2 separate regions of the Homo sapiens genome follow, and region 1 is linked to region 2. The links are contacts of gene promoters, found by promoter capture Hi-C in blood cells and fetal thymus (Javierre and others, 2016). All regions are on one chromosome and are shown on one strand. Each heading gives the region's core, a stretch centred on a gene start or on the middle of the fragment in contact. The rest is flanking DNA. Distances are from core to core; before and after follow the strand shown. Region 1 overlaps DPYSL5 (dihydropyrimidinase like 5). Region 2 holds the start of DPYSL5 (dihydropyrimidinase like 5).

What was found. The method cuts DNA at HindIII sites, captures the fragments that hold promoters and counts their contacts. A CHiCAGO score of 5 or more calls a contact.
Region 1: a contact is called between a fragment that was not itself captured here and the fragment with the promoter of DPYSL5 in region 2, in 4 of 17 cell types (megakaryocytes, M1 macrophages, M0 macrophages and 1 more). The highest score is 8.0, in megakaryocytes.

What each region holds. Positions count from the first base shown.
Region 1 is chr2:26,904,805-26,911,328 of GRCh38, reverse strand. The region is part of intron 2 of DPYSL5 (dihydropyrimidinase like 5); the gene reads right to left. Among named protein-coding and RNA genes, the nearest start is that of DPYSL5, 60 kb to the right of the region's middle. The HindIII fragment of the contact is 164 bases long and covers 2,412-2,575 here.
Region 2 is chr2:26,846,476-26,853,605 of GRCh38, reverse strand. DPYSL5 (dihydropyrimidinase like 5) reads right to left here and starts at 5,474. Exons shown (of 13, transcript NM_020134.4): 1 at 5,352-5,474. The HindIII fragment of the contact is 4,603 bases long and covers 3,275-7,130 here.

The DNA of each region.
Region 1 (6,524 bases), core at 1,244-3,743, 61 kb before region 2:
GTCATACAACTTTGAAAAAGAACAGAGTTGGAAGACATACACTGCCCGCTTTCAAGACTTACTGTAAAGTTACAATAATTAAGAGACTGTGGTATTGGTGTAAAAATAGACAAACAGATCAAAAGAAGAGAAGAGTCCACAAATAGGCTGGCACATGTATGGTCAATTGATTTTTGACAAGGGATAATCTTTTCAACAAATGGCTCTGGAACAATTGGATAGCCATTTGCAAAAAAAAAAAAAAAAAAACTGAACATAGATACCACATACCATGTATAAAAATTAACTTAAAACAGATCATAGACTGAACTGTAAAAGCTAAAATTACAAACTTCTAAAAGAAAACATAGGGGAAAATCTTAGAGACCTTGGATTCTGAAAAAATTTCTTGATTATAGCACAAAAAGCATGAAGTAGAAATAAAAAAATCGATAAATTGGACTTCAAAATTAAAAACTACTGCTCTTCAAAAAACACTTAAGAAAATGAAAAAGTAAGTAACAGACTGGGAGAAAAATTTGCAAAACATATATCTAATAAATGGCTTGTAATTAGACTATATAAACAACTTTTGGGCTGGGTGTGGTGGCTCACACCTGTAATCCCAGCACTTTGGGAGGCTGGGGCGGGCAGATCAACTGAGGTCAATCATTCAGGACCAGCCTGGCCAACTGGTGAAACCCTGTCTCTACTAAAAAAAAAAAAAAAAAAAGAAGAAGAAGAAAGAAAAAAAGAAAACAACTCTTATATTCAGATTTTTAAAAGCCAACAACTTACTAAAACATGGGTAAAAGGTGTGAGCAGACACTTCACTGAAAACATATAGAAGGCATATAGGCACATGTAAAGACATTCAACACTAGTCACTAAGGAAATGCACATTGTAACCACACTGAGATACCACTACACACCTATTAGAACGGCTAAAATTAAAAAGACTGACCACAACAAGTGGTGGGAATGATATGGAGTCACTACTGATGGGGAAAAAAAAATTGTTACAACCACTTTGGAAACCAGGTGGCAATTTCTTAAAAAGCTAAATGTAGACCTACCATAAAACAGACACATTCCACTTCCGGGTAATTACCCAAGGGAAATAAAAGCCTATGTCCACACAAATATATGTATATGAATGTTCACAGTAGCTTTATCTTTAACAGCCAAAAACTTAATACTACTGAGCGAAAGAAACCAGACAAAAAAAGGAATGCATATCGCATTGCTCCATTTATATAGAAATAGTAGAAAATGCAAACTAATCTATAGTGACATAAAATAGTGGTAACCTGGGGTGAGAGCTGGGGGAAAATTACAGGAACACAAAGAAACTTTCAGGAATGGTGGATATGTTTATTATATTGTGATGGCTTCTTGATGTATGTATATGTCAAAATGTATCAAACTGTATACTTTAAAATGTGCAGCTTATCAAACATTAATTATACCTTTTTTTTTTAAAGGTGGCTTCCCAGGTTACCTAATCATGTTCTCCTCTTTCTAGACATATTCTTCCCAACAGTGGAGTTCACTAACATTTACCAATTTTTTTTTTGTTTTTAGACAGGGTCTTGTTCTGTCACTGGAGTGCAGTGGCATGATCATAGCTCACTGCAGCCTCAAACTTCTGAGCTCAAGTGAGCTCAAACTCCTCCTGCCTCAGCCTCCCTAGTAGCTAGGTCTATAGGTACACACCATCATGCTTGGCTAATTTTTGTATTTTTTGTAGAGATGGGGTTTCACTATGTTGCCTAGGCTGGTCTTAAACTCCTGGCCTCAAGTGATCCTCTTGCCTTGGCCTCCCAAAGCTTTGGGATTACAGGCGTGAGCCACCGAGCCACTGAGCCCCGCCTTGTTTAATTTTATTTTAAAATATTAATTGAGAATACTGTGGATCGTTTAAGTCTAAACAGGAAAATTATTTATGAATTAGGGGTAGTATTTATTAATCTCTAATGGTACTTCCAGCTCTAAAATTGTGTGTGTGAGAGCGAGTGTGAATGTGAGATGGTGTGTGTGATGTGTGTGCAATATGAGTGAGAAACAATGGTCAGTGAGAACGTTCTTACAGTAGTTGGCCCACAGTTTTATATTCGTTTAGTTACTAATTAAAGATCCTTATAGGGCTTCAGTTTTAGTCAACAAGAAACAAAAAAGCATCAGAAGGAGAGAAAAATGTGGCTGGCTGCAGTAATCACCCAAGGGAACAATGAGGCTGAAACTATCCAGGGGAGATGATCTGGCACCTACGCAAATTTCTACCTGTAAATGAACCAAGATATGTCCCTTATTTTCAACACAAATATGGCAACTTCAAAGGTAACCTCTGTGAGGTTTGGGAGAACAGATATTTCCAATTGAGAAAAGGCCATATTCAAATATTTCTTGAAATATTAAAAAAGATACAAGCTTAATTTAAGAAAAGAAAAAGAGGAAGAAGGGAGAAAAATGGAAGAAGACAGAAAAATGGCATTCATGTGCAATATGTATCATTGAAGTGCACATACAGTATATATTTTTCTTCTTCCTTTTTTCCTTTTATAAATTCCAGTGGATGACAGCATAAAGCAAAGCTTCTTGTACTAAGCACGAAAGATTGCCAAGACACTTGGCCTCAATCACAGAGGGTGTATTTATTTTATTCTGAATCAAAGGTTTTAAAAATGCAATAATCTGCATTGATAAATTCTTTGCAAACACTATTCTAGAAGTTGAGGAGCTGCTTGGTCACCATAGGAGGTTTTTTCCCAATACCAGAGATACAAATTTATAAGAAACGATAGATCTCCTCATTCACATCAGTTCTAAGAAGGATCAACCTGGCCTACATTTTGGCCTACCAATTAATGTACACGTAGAATGAAAGTTGCCAGCAAGGTTTTGTTAAGCAAGTAGCTGGTTTGAAGCAGGACACCTTTAAATAGCTCCTGATGCCTGCAGAGTTTATTGCTGGCTATTTCTGCCTTTAAGAGAAAGAGAGAAGACAGAAAATTATCTAGAATTTATCACTATTACTATCAGACTCTGTTTGAAATCTAAAACACACACAGAAATTCGAACGCTAGGAATGAAATCCAGTTCTTTCAGTTCCTATTTGATGCTTAACTGTTTTATATGTATGCTCGTACAAATGGATTTTTAAGGGATCTGACTTTGATCAACATGATCTATTTATTTATTTAACAAACATTCACATAATGCTTAATAAGCACCAAGTATTCTTTTAAGTTCTTTACAAATAATAACTCAATTAGCACTTTTAAAGACATACGACAATGGAGGAACAGAGAGATTAACTTGCCCACATGACATAGCAAGCAAATGTGGAGCTGAAATCCGAACTCCAGCATTCATAGCCCCAGTCTGTGCTGATAACTCCCACTCCATGCTGACATCCATTTCTTGGATGTCGACTACACCGTTAGGGCTACGCGGGCTCTGTGGCTAGTCACAAGTTAAATCGTGGTCTCTGCTCCTCAAAGGGTCTTCAATCTTGTTGAGAAACAAACTTAACATGGGAAACAATTTGAAAGCCCTAGGATGACAAGTTATTTCAGCTGGCGAGAAGAAAGTGACATCCTGGAGCTGGGTTAGCTGGAGGAGGAGTGCCACGAGAGGCTGTTCGCCTTGAAGGAGGGGCTCTGTGCAGGGGTGGAGAGAGATGGCAACAGGCAGCATGGGGTGTCCATGGAGGGCATCTTCCTGATGGATGGGTGCGTGTGGGGAGCAGCTGGCCATGATGGGTCGATGGGAGGGCAAGGTCAGATCAGGGGTTGCCCAGGGGGAAGATCCATACATCCAAACTTGATGTCTTAGACAACAGGGAGCCATTGCAGGGACACGACATCAGGCATAGAGAGAGCCGTGAGATGAAGGGGGGCCAAGGTGATTTTTTATTTTAAAAATGTAAATGTGGGCTGGGCGCAGTAGCTCATGCCTGTAATCCCAGCACTTTGGGAGGCTGAGGCTTATGGATCACTTGAGGTCAGGAGTTCGAGACTAGCCTGACCAACATGGAGAAACTCCGTCTCTACTAAAAATACAAAATTAGCTGGGCATGGTGGCGGGCGCCTGTATTCCCAGTTACTTGGGAGGCTGAGACAGGGGAATTGCTTGAACCCAGGAGGCGGAGGTTGCAGTGAGCCAAGATTGCACCACTGCACTCCAGCCTGGGTGACAGAGCAAGACTCCATCTCAAAAAAATAAAATAAATAAATAAATAAATAAAAATGTAAATGTGGAGTTTTAAAAAGGTTTAAGTAAGCTGAGCATGATGGCTGACGCCTGTAATCCTAACACTTTGGGAGGCTGAGGCAGGAGGATCGCTTGAAGCCAAGAATTCAAGACCAGCCTGGGCAACATAGCAAGATCCGGTCTCTACAAAAAATAAAAATAAAAAACTTAGCTGGGCACAGTGGCATGTGCCTGCAGTCCCAGCTACTCAGGAGGCTGAGGTGGGAGTATGGCTTGAGCCCAGGTGGTTGACGCCACAGTGAGCTATGATCATGCCACTACGCTCCAGCCTGGGTGACAGGGCCAGATTCTATCTCTAAAATAAATAAATAAATTATGATTTAGGTAGTTTAAGCAAAATAGGTGGAGTGGAGATGTACTAGGGCAAAATGTCTATAGGATAGCCATGTTTTTGCATGTGACTCCCTGTGGTAGGCAGAATTCTAAGATGACTCCCAGTGGCCCACACCCCTGTATAACTGCATCTCACTGAGTGTGGGAGGGATCTTGTGAATAAGATGGGAAAACGTACCCATGATTAGGTTATATTCCATGGCAGGAGATTATCCTCAGTGGGTCTGGGCTAATCAGGTGAGCTCATAAAGGTATGGGTTGGCCAGGCACGGTGGCTAACGCCTGTAATCCCAGCCCTTTTGGAGGCCGAGGCAGGCAGATCACGAGGTCAAGAGATAGAGACCATCCTGGCCAACATGGTGAAACCTCATCTCTACTAAGAATACAAAAATTAGCTGGGCGTGGTGGCAGGCGCCTGTACTCCCAGCTACTCAGGAGGCTGAGGCAGGAGAATCTCTTGAACCTGGGAAGTGGAGGTTGCAGTGAGCTGAGATCGTGCCACTGCAGTCCAGCCTGGTGACAGAGCAAGACTCTGTCTCAAAAAAAAAAAAAAAAGATATGGGTTTTTTTCTTGGTGAAAGAGATTCTAGTCAGAGATTTGAAACAGGAGAGAGACTTGAGGTGAGTCTGTTGCTGGCTTTGAAGATGGAAGGGGCAGGTGGCAAAGGGTGCTGGCAGCCTCCAGGCACTGAGATCCGCCCCAGGCTGACAGCCAACAAGGAAACAGGGACCTCAGTCCTTGAACTCCAAGAAATGGAATTCTGCCACAACTACACGAGCTTGGCAGAGAACCCTGGACTCCAGATGAGAATGCAGCCCATTGACACCTGGATGGCGGCTTGCGAGGCTCTGAGCCGAAGACCTAGTCATGCTGTGCCCAGATTTCTACCTACAGAACTGTGAGTTAATAAATGGGTGTTTTAAATTGCTGAACTTGAGGCAATTAGTTACACAGCAGAAAACTAATATACCCTCTACAAGCAGACTAAGTACCGATGGAGGGGGTAGAGGGATGTCCTCCAGGTGGCAGGGGAGGGGAAGTCACTTCATGAAGCCTTCACAGGGCTCTTTACAGCCTACAGGTGAGTCACAGAAGAAAGTGGAGAGAGGAGCCCAGCTATGCCAATCCCAGCCCCCACAGCTAGGCCGGAGGGGTGGTAGGGCAGCAGGAAGAACGAGCATGGAAAACGAGCTGGGAGGTGAGGGCCGATTCCCAGAGAAGGCCTGCCAGGGTGCCTGCTGGCCAAGCCCAGGGACACAGGTAGCATGGGCACTCGGTGCACAGTGGAGCAATTTCATTGTGAAGCCAAAGTCGGTGGATCTTTTCTCAAGGAACTGGAAGAAAAGAGCCTGGGGTGGAAGCAGGTAGTCCCAGCCTGGGGACTAGCATTTATTGTATATGTATTCTGTGACAGGGACTATGTGAAGCATTTGTCATGCATCATCTCATCTAATCCTTACAAACACCATTTATACATAGTAAAAACTGTTTAGCTCTAAGGCGCTGACATCAGTTATTCCTGCAGGGAGGAGCAGCATTTCATAAAGCTACTGTCTTGGGCAGGCAGAGACCTCGCTCAGCTGCCTGCCTGATGCAAATCCATTCTGAGACACCCTCATCTGGTCCAGCAAAATTTGGGGCCACAGAATAGCAAGAGAAATATTTGCATACAGCCAACCAAGAGGCCACAGGCTGAAAGGGGTGATTGTTCAGTCCCGAGGTCTCAGGAGGCCTTGAACAGGGTGGTGAAAGGCTGAGAAACCTGCCTTCTGGTCCAACTGGCCCTGGGATGTGGGCTACTCATGCAACCTCAAACTCCTGTTTTTGTTTTTGTTTTGAGACAGGGTCTCACTCTGTCACCCAGGCTGGGGTGCAGTGGTGCAATCACAGCTCACTGCAGCCTCAACTTTCCTGGGCTCAGATGATCCTCCCCACT
Region 2 (7,130 bases), core at 4,225-6,724:
GAACTGATTTTCTGTTTTTCTGGAGAACTCCAGTTATCCTGGAGAACTGATACAGATGGTAATCAAACCCCTTGAGTTCAAGGCCTGGCTCTGCCATGTCCCCATCTGGGTGTCCTTTTTACTTTTGTTGCCTCATTTGTAAAATGAGGATAATAACAGTAACCTAATGCATAGTAATCAGAACCACCCCTGGCACAGAGTGCTTTGAAAGTGTTTGTGAAATAAATAACTGTGGTTCCAAGTTGCACAAAATTCTGTATTTCTTAGCTGGAAAACCTGAGTTTTCTTTATTCCCAATAATTTGCCATCAACCAAACATGATGACTCTTCCCCACACCAAGAATTACATAGCCTTGGGACAACAGCTCCTCACCAGCCACGCCAGCCTAACCCCACTCAAAGGAATGATGCAGCAAAGCTGAGGTCACAGCACTTCTGGAACACTCTTAATTCTCCAAGTTCTCAGCTGCTAAAAACAGCTGAGCTTAAAGAGGCTGCCAGGAAACAGACTCCACAGAGAGCTATTCCTACTATTTGCAAGGGTGGGAGTTTTAGAAAGGAGTCCTAATCATTCCTTGTGTTCCCACTGTTAATCCCTACAGCAACTTGCCATGGCCCCTTGGGATGAAAGATTAAATGGGGAATCAAAGTGTTGTTTTTGTGGACACACATTTTAGAGGGAGAATATGATGCTGCTGCTGATGGTGATGATAACTTTTACTGAGCACTTACAAGATGCCAGATGCTGCTCTCAGTGCTAACCATTAACACATGTAAGCCTCAGAACAACCCCAGATGTAGATACTGTTAAGTTGGTGCAGAAGTCACGGCAGTTTTTGTCATTAAAAGTAATGGCAAAAACAGCAATTACTTCTGCACCAACCTAATACAACCATCCTCATTGCACAGATAAACAGAAAGTGGCCAAGGTGAAATCTGAACCCAGGCTTTCTGGCTCTCCCTCCTGTACACGCTACCGCTGAGCCTGGATTGTGACGAGGGAGGAGGGAGGCGAGGGAACAAGTACAGAACAGGGCTGTGATTGATGGGAGTGCTTGGCAAGCTCGGGTTCAATCAATGGTTAAATCAGCTTATTTTAAATGAAACAAGTTTCAAAGACTGAAGTAGAACAAATCATACACCATGTTCCTCCCTGAATTTCTTTTGTTCAAGTGTATAATTTGTGCCCACTTTTATACATAAATACCAAAGCTCACAAAAGATTCATGTTATGGTATTTCAACCTTTCATCTTCACATAAAAAAAAGCAAGGCAAAGCGATTTTGAAATTATTTCTCATTTATGCACCAGCAGTGCAATGAAATCAAACACCTGCTTATTGGAAAAATGATAAAACACATTTATTCTTATTTGCTCCCATATTACACCAAGTTTTCCCTACAGGACTTCATGTTGACAAAGATATCTTGTTCTACAGGATTCCTGTGAATTAAGTCTTAGAAGACTTTTCTGGAATATGTTTTTATACCTCAGAAAACAAAAAAGATACACAAGATCAGATTCTATCAGAAACTGGTAAATTTTCACACCAGGAAGATAGACTGGGTCTCAGATACTCTTGTCCAACTTCTCTGGCTCTCAATATTTTTCTATGCCCCAAGAAAATGATCTGAACACACAATTCACATTTTTTTTTTTGAGATAGAGTCTCACTCTGTTGCCCAGGCTGGAGTGCAGTGGCACGATCTCAGCTCACTGCAACCTCGGCCTCCCAGGTTCAAGTGATTCTCCACCTCAGCCTCCTCCCAAGTAGCTGGGACTACAGGTGTGCGCCACCACGTCAGGCTAATTTTTTTGTATTTTTAGTAGAGATGGAGTTTCACCATGTTGGCCAGGCTGGTCTCGAACTCCTGACCTCAAGTGATCCTCCTGTCTCAGCCTCCCAAAGTGTTGGGATTACAGGCGTGATCCACTGTGCCTGGCCACAATTTACTTTTACCCCAGAGACCTGCCTATAGTCATGCTGTCCTTTGGCTTATAGTCCCGTGGAGCTAATGCAGGATCATACAGAATCCTGGGTCAGAGAAGCTATTAAGGGGAAATTCTCAGATAGCTATGGCAGGAGAAGAGACGTGGAAGTGCCACAAATGAAGTTTACGCCAAGTCCTGAGACCTGATTTTGGCCAACTGTGTAAACTTGCCTTGCTGTGGAACTCTTTCCAGAGATAGAAGCATTAAGAATAATGCAACAACCCTGCTAATGTTTGCACCTAGAGAGGTTACGCTGACAACAGCCAGGCCTTCACGTCAGGCTGGTCATACCGGCATTCCTTGTCTATGGATTCCCTGCCATGAGGAACAGACTGCAATGGATGTTCACAGAGTGCTTTAAGAAGATTACATCCTTTTAAAAATCCATAAAATTATTACAAAAAAGAAGCCAACAAAACACTCCTTCCTGAAATTGTTCCCTTTGGGTAATAATATGAAAACATGTTTCCCATTGGAGCTCTCTTACAAGAAAAAACCTTCACTGTCAGATTTCTAGGTTTCTAATATTGAGATTCCTAGTATTTATGTACTCTGAATCCATGTTTGTGTGTATGCATAAATACACACATGCATATATAATTTAGTAAAATATAGTATGTGTATATATATATGTGTGTATATACATATTAATATATACATATATATAATTCAGTTAAAATATAGTTAAAAACAACCAATGAGCAATGTTCCAGCTAGTCCTTCCAGATCAGTTTTGTAAATTCTGTGAGGCACCTCCTCAAAACACCATCCTTTAAAACCAGCAAGACATAGCCTACTGCTGACTCCCTATGGCCAGAAAGGACACTCAGACAAGAGGCCTTCACTTTGACAGCTATCATCTGTCCTGGGCAAAAGCCAACAGCCACAGCACAGTCCTTCACCTTACACACTAATCTTGTTAAGAAAGCAAATCCTGAGATTTCAAGGCTGGGTTAAGAGAACCAACAGGTTCTCAGTTAACTTAGTGGCAAATGTAAGTGGCATCAATGAGTTCTACAATGCCAAGTATCGCCCAGTCTGGGAACAAAAACATTCCTGCCTTTTTTTTTAATGAATGGCAATTTAAAATGATAACTTTATGCTAAAGATTCACCTTTAACTTGTCATCTAACCAGTTATCAAAGCAACAGTGCAACACAGAATTCTGGCTTTGGGTGTCACTTCACATGTCAAGGCGCTGCAGCGGTGACTTGCAAGGTGTTTAGACGGCGGGCGAGAGGCTGAGTGCGTGGAAAGCCCTGCTGAAAGCCTGTTTTAAGCTTCCATTCGGTTCATCTGCTTTCCCACGGGCAAGCAGCGCCTATCACAGAGCTACCCCAGTCTTAGGTCAGCAGACAATATGGGCGAAGTCTGCAAGAGACGCACTGGCTTGGGTGTGGTCACTGGCAAAGAAAAGCACTGGACCCCTAGCAGCGGCTCCCAAACCTAGAGCCTCACCCTTGCGGGATCATTTCCACCCGCTTCTCCGCAATTTGACCACAATCCGCACCAGCCCTTACGGCTCCCCCTGAGAAAGCACAGCTGCAGCCCCTAGACTACGGCCGCCTCGGCAGACAAAGCCGCTGCTCGGGGGAACCCGCGCTGCACCGAGGCGACCTCCAGTCTTTGGCACCTGCGTCGCCGCCCGGCAGCTCCGCGCCGCTAACCACGCCGCGTCTCGGCAGCGGGTGGACAGCGCGGGGCGGGCGGCGGCGCTGCACCAGAAGGCACCCGAGCCGGAGTGGGGGGGTGGCTGTCTGCAGGCCCCCAGGCCGGGGGAGCGCCTCCCACACGGGATTCCCGGCGTGGCCAGGCCCCCATAAAACCCCAAAGCCAGCACGTGCCCGGAGGTTCCGCAGGGAGTATTCCCAGCACCAGAAAACTGCACCCTCGCGTCCTGGGTGGCCCTGGTTTGTCGTCGGATGGACACCAGGGTCGGCTATTGTTCTCCGGGTCTCCCCGAAGGGAGATCCGCCTCCCTGGCAGCACCTGCTGCTGGGCAAAGCCTTTCAGCTCCTCGAGAAAAGGGCGTGCCGTGGGCGCCGCGGAAGATCACAAAACCCTAAGCGAGTCGCTACCGGCTGGTTTCAAGCCTGGAGACAAAGCTCCTCACCAAGCCAGCCCAGCCCGGTCCCGGATCTGCCATCCTGGGTCCCTAACCCCGGTCCGAGGGCCACGCCCAGCCGGCCACCTGGGCCGCGGGGCCCCGCGCCTGGAGCTGAGGATCCTCGGGCCCGAGACCGCCTCTCAGCTGCTTGCCCCTCCCTCCTCGGGAGGCTCCCCTTCCCAGGAGGCCCCCCTCCCCCGCACAGCGCGGGTCTTCTCCTCGCTCCCGTCCTCCCTCCTCAAACCCAGGCGGCCTCCACCCGCCTGCATCCCTCCTCCCCTCCCCATTCTTCAGCAGAACCAGCCTCGCCGGGCGCCACCTGCACCGAGCTCCTTCCCTCGTTCTTCGGACCCGCCCCCGCCCCTTCTCTTTCCTCCTCAAACCCTAGTTCCCACTCCCTGCTCCCCGAGACCCACTACCTGTCCTAACCCAGCTCCCCAGCCTTCCCCATCCCCATCTTTTCTCAACCGAGGCCTCCCCTCGCCCTCTCCCGGCTTCTCTCCAGCTCAGACTACAGCCCCGTCCCCAGGCCCGGGGCGTCGACGTCGGTGCCCGCTGAGATCGATGCTGCAAGGCGGGCTCCCGCGCTGGGCTCCAGCCGAGGGACCCGGCTCGGCGCCCGCTCCGGGCTGGGCAGCCGCAGGAGGCCTTTGTGGCTCAGGCGGGAGGCTCGGAGGCGGCGGGCGAGTCCTCTGCAGGCGTCCGCTCCGTTAGCCGGGCGGTGGAACAGACCGCCGGGTCGGGTCCAGGCTGGGCAGATCCCAGCTCGGAGGCGAGAAGGACGGAGGGTGTGTATCTGGGTGGTGTGTGGGACCGGGGACAGCGCAGATCCTGGGACCGGCAGGACTGGCCCCCGGCCAGAGGCGCCCCCGCCCAGCCCTCCAGCGGTCCACTGCACCGCGCCCGGCTAGGAAAGCGGCCCACTGCGTGCTAGGCGCGAAACCCCTCGGCCGAGCCGCCTCCTCACCCCAGGGCTTTGCAACCCCGCGAGCACGCATTAAACGCTTACTATGAGCAAGGCCCGGCACGGCGCTTCGCGGGCGTACAAAGAGGACCCCAAGAGCGCCCCGGCTTAGCCCCGATGGCCACCTCCCAACCCCAAACCACACCTCCCGCCGCGTCCCCTGCGGCCGGGCCCCAGGCTCACCCGGCTCCCCGCCCTTTTGTGCGCCTCACGCAGAAACAGAAGGGGGAGAGGAGGATGTCCTAGCCCGGGAGGGGTAAGCCCACCGACCCCCCTGCCATCACCCACTCCTCCGAGATGCTGCGGCCGCGGGGGCCCGTGGCTCGGTCCGTCTCCGTCTCGCCGCGGCGCCGGAGCTGCGGGTGCTCGGGGCGGCGGCGGCTGCACGCGCGCTCGCTCGGGGGCCGCCTCAGCGCGCCCAGCGCGGGAGTCCAGAGTGGGGAGCGGGGGAGGGGCGCGTGTCGGGGGCTGGGAGCGGCCTCCGCCAATCACCGCGCGGCCGGCTCCTCCCGCCGCTCCCCACCTCAGCTAGCAGGTTAAGGGGAGGCGGGGACAGGCGGCGTCCCGCATCCTTGGCGCCGCGCGCCGCCGCCGCCTGGGGACTACAACTCCCGGCAGGCCCTGCTGCAGGGCCGGGGTCCGAGAGCGGACGGAGGGCGCGGCCGGAGAACTCACCGACCCCCCTAGCACCCGGCTCCGCGTTCCCTCGGGTTTCCATGGCGACTCAGGACACCACAAAGCCTGGACGCGCTGAGGCACGGGTCCCCAGGGAGGGCCGGGGGCGGTTCCGGAGGACACCCCGCCTCCCCTCCCCCAGCTGGATCCCACCCCAGGGGCTGAAACAATGCCGCGGCCGCCTCTCCCGGGCTGCGGCCGCGCTGCCCTCCGCCGCAGGACCCCGCCGAGGCCGCCTGGTTCGCGCCAAGACCCGCTCCGACGCCCGCGGGATTGCGGGATGCAAAGGGCCGGGTGGGCGTTATAGGAAAACTGTTCTCATGAACAAAGTGGACGGCCACTTGGGGCCACCGCAGTTCGCATCTGCACCCGGGGAGGTCTCGAACCCGGAGTGCGTTCTCTCCACTGAGAAGATTTTGCCCAGCGCCACGCGGGTGCTTCCCTGTCCAGAGCGCTCAGGCCCAGTGCCTGTCTTATTTCTGGCTTCTGTCAAGGGACAGCGAAGCCTTTGGAAATTATTTATAACCCAATTTACATTCGCTTCACCTGTTTCTTCATGTTTAAATACATACATAATTTACCAAAATAAACAAATCTAAAAAAGGAGAGGAAGGATCATCCCCGGTTTGTCCCACCTCCCTAGCTAATCCCGGTTCAAGCCTTTGCCATTGATCTGTGTTATTTTCTGCAGTTGTAATAATAGTTTGGATTAGTCATTTGCCTCTTTGCACTTAATGTCACTCCAAAGGCGTTGCGATGCGCGTTAAAATGCAGCATCAAGGACCTCCAAGCTGCAGCTGCAGAATCCCTCCCTCCCCGGGCTCCCCGGCGATCCGGTGGGGAGAGGAGTCCCCTGGCAGCCATGGCCTCGTGAGGTGGTTCTCTTTGCAGGATACTTTCAAACAAAATGGTGTTCACTACTCCGGGGGCGTGGAGGGGGTCCCCTCTCCCCATCTCAGCAAAATCTACCCGGGCGCAGGACCCGCAGAGCCCGCCAAGGCGGGGTTCCCTGCCGTCCTTCCCCAGAGAGCTTAGGGCCTGGACCAGGCCAGGCTGGCCTTTGAGGGATGCATTTCTGGATTACCCCACCCCTGAGTCTGCACTCCTTCTCCCCTTCCCAACTCCCGCCTGCTTGGTAAGCAGAGAGCAGGGAGCCCCCAGAGGAACCTCAAAGCATCCCTAACCCAGTGCAGCCCGGGATGTGGCTGTGAAAACTGCTCCAGCTTGGGGCACTGCCCTATGGATTCTCCAGGGCTTGCCCGGACAGGGATGTAGGCAAAATGGACTGGGCTTCAGGGAGGTGGCGTGGAGCTGCCAGCGGCCTCCCGGCGGCGGGGTTCCGAGACTACCGCGCGCGGGCGGTGCTGCGCTTTTTGCTTAAGGGAGAGAGAG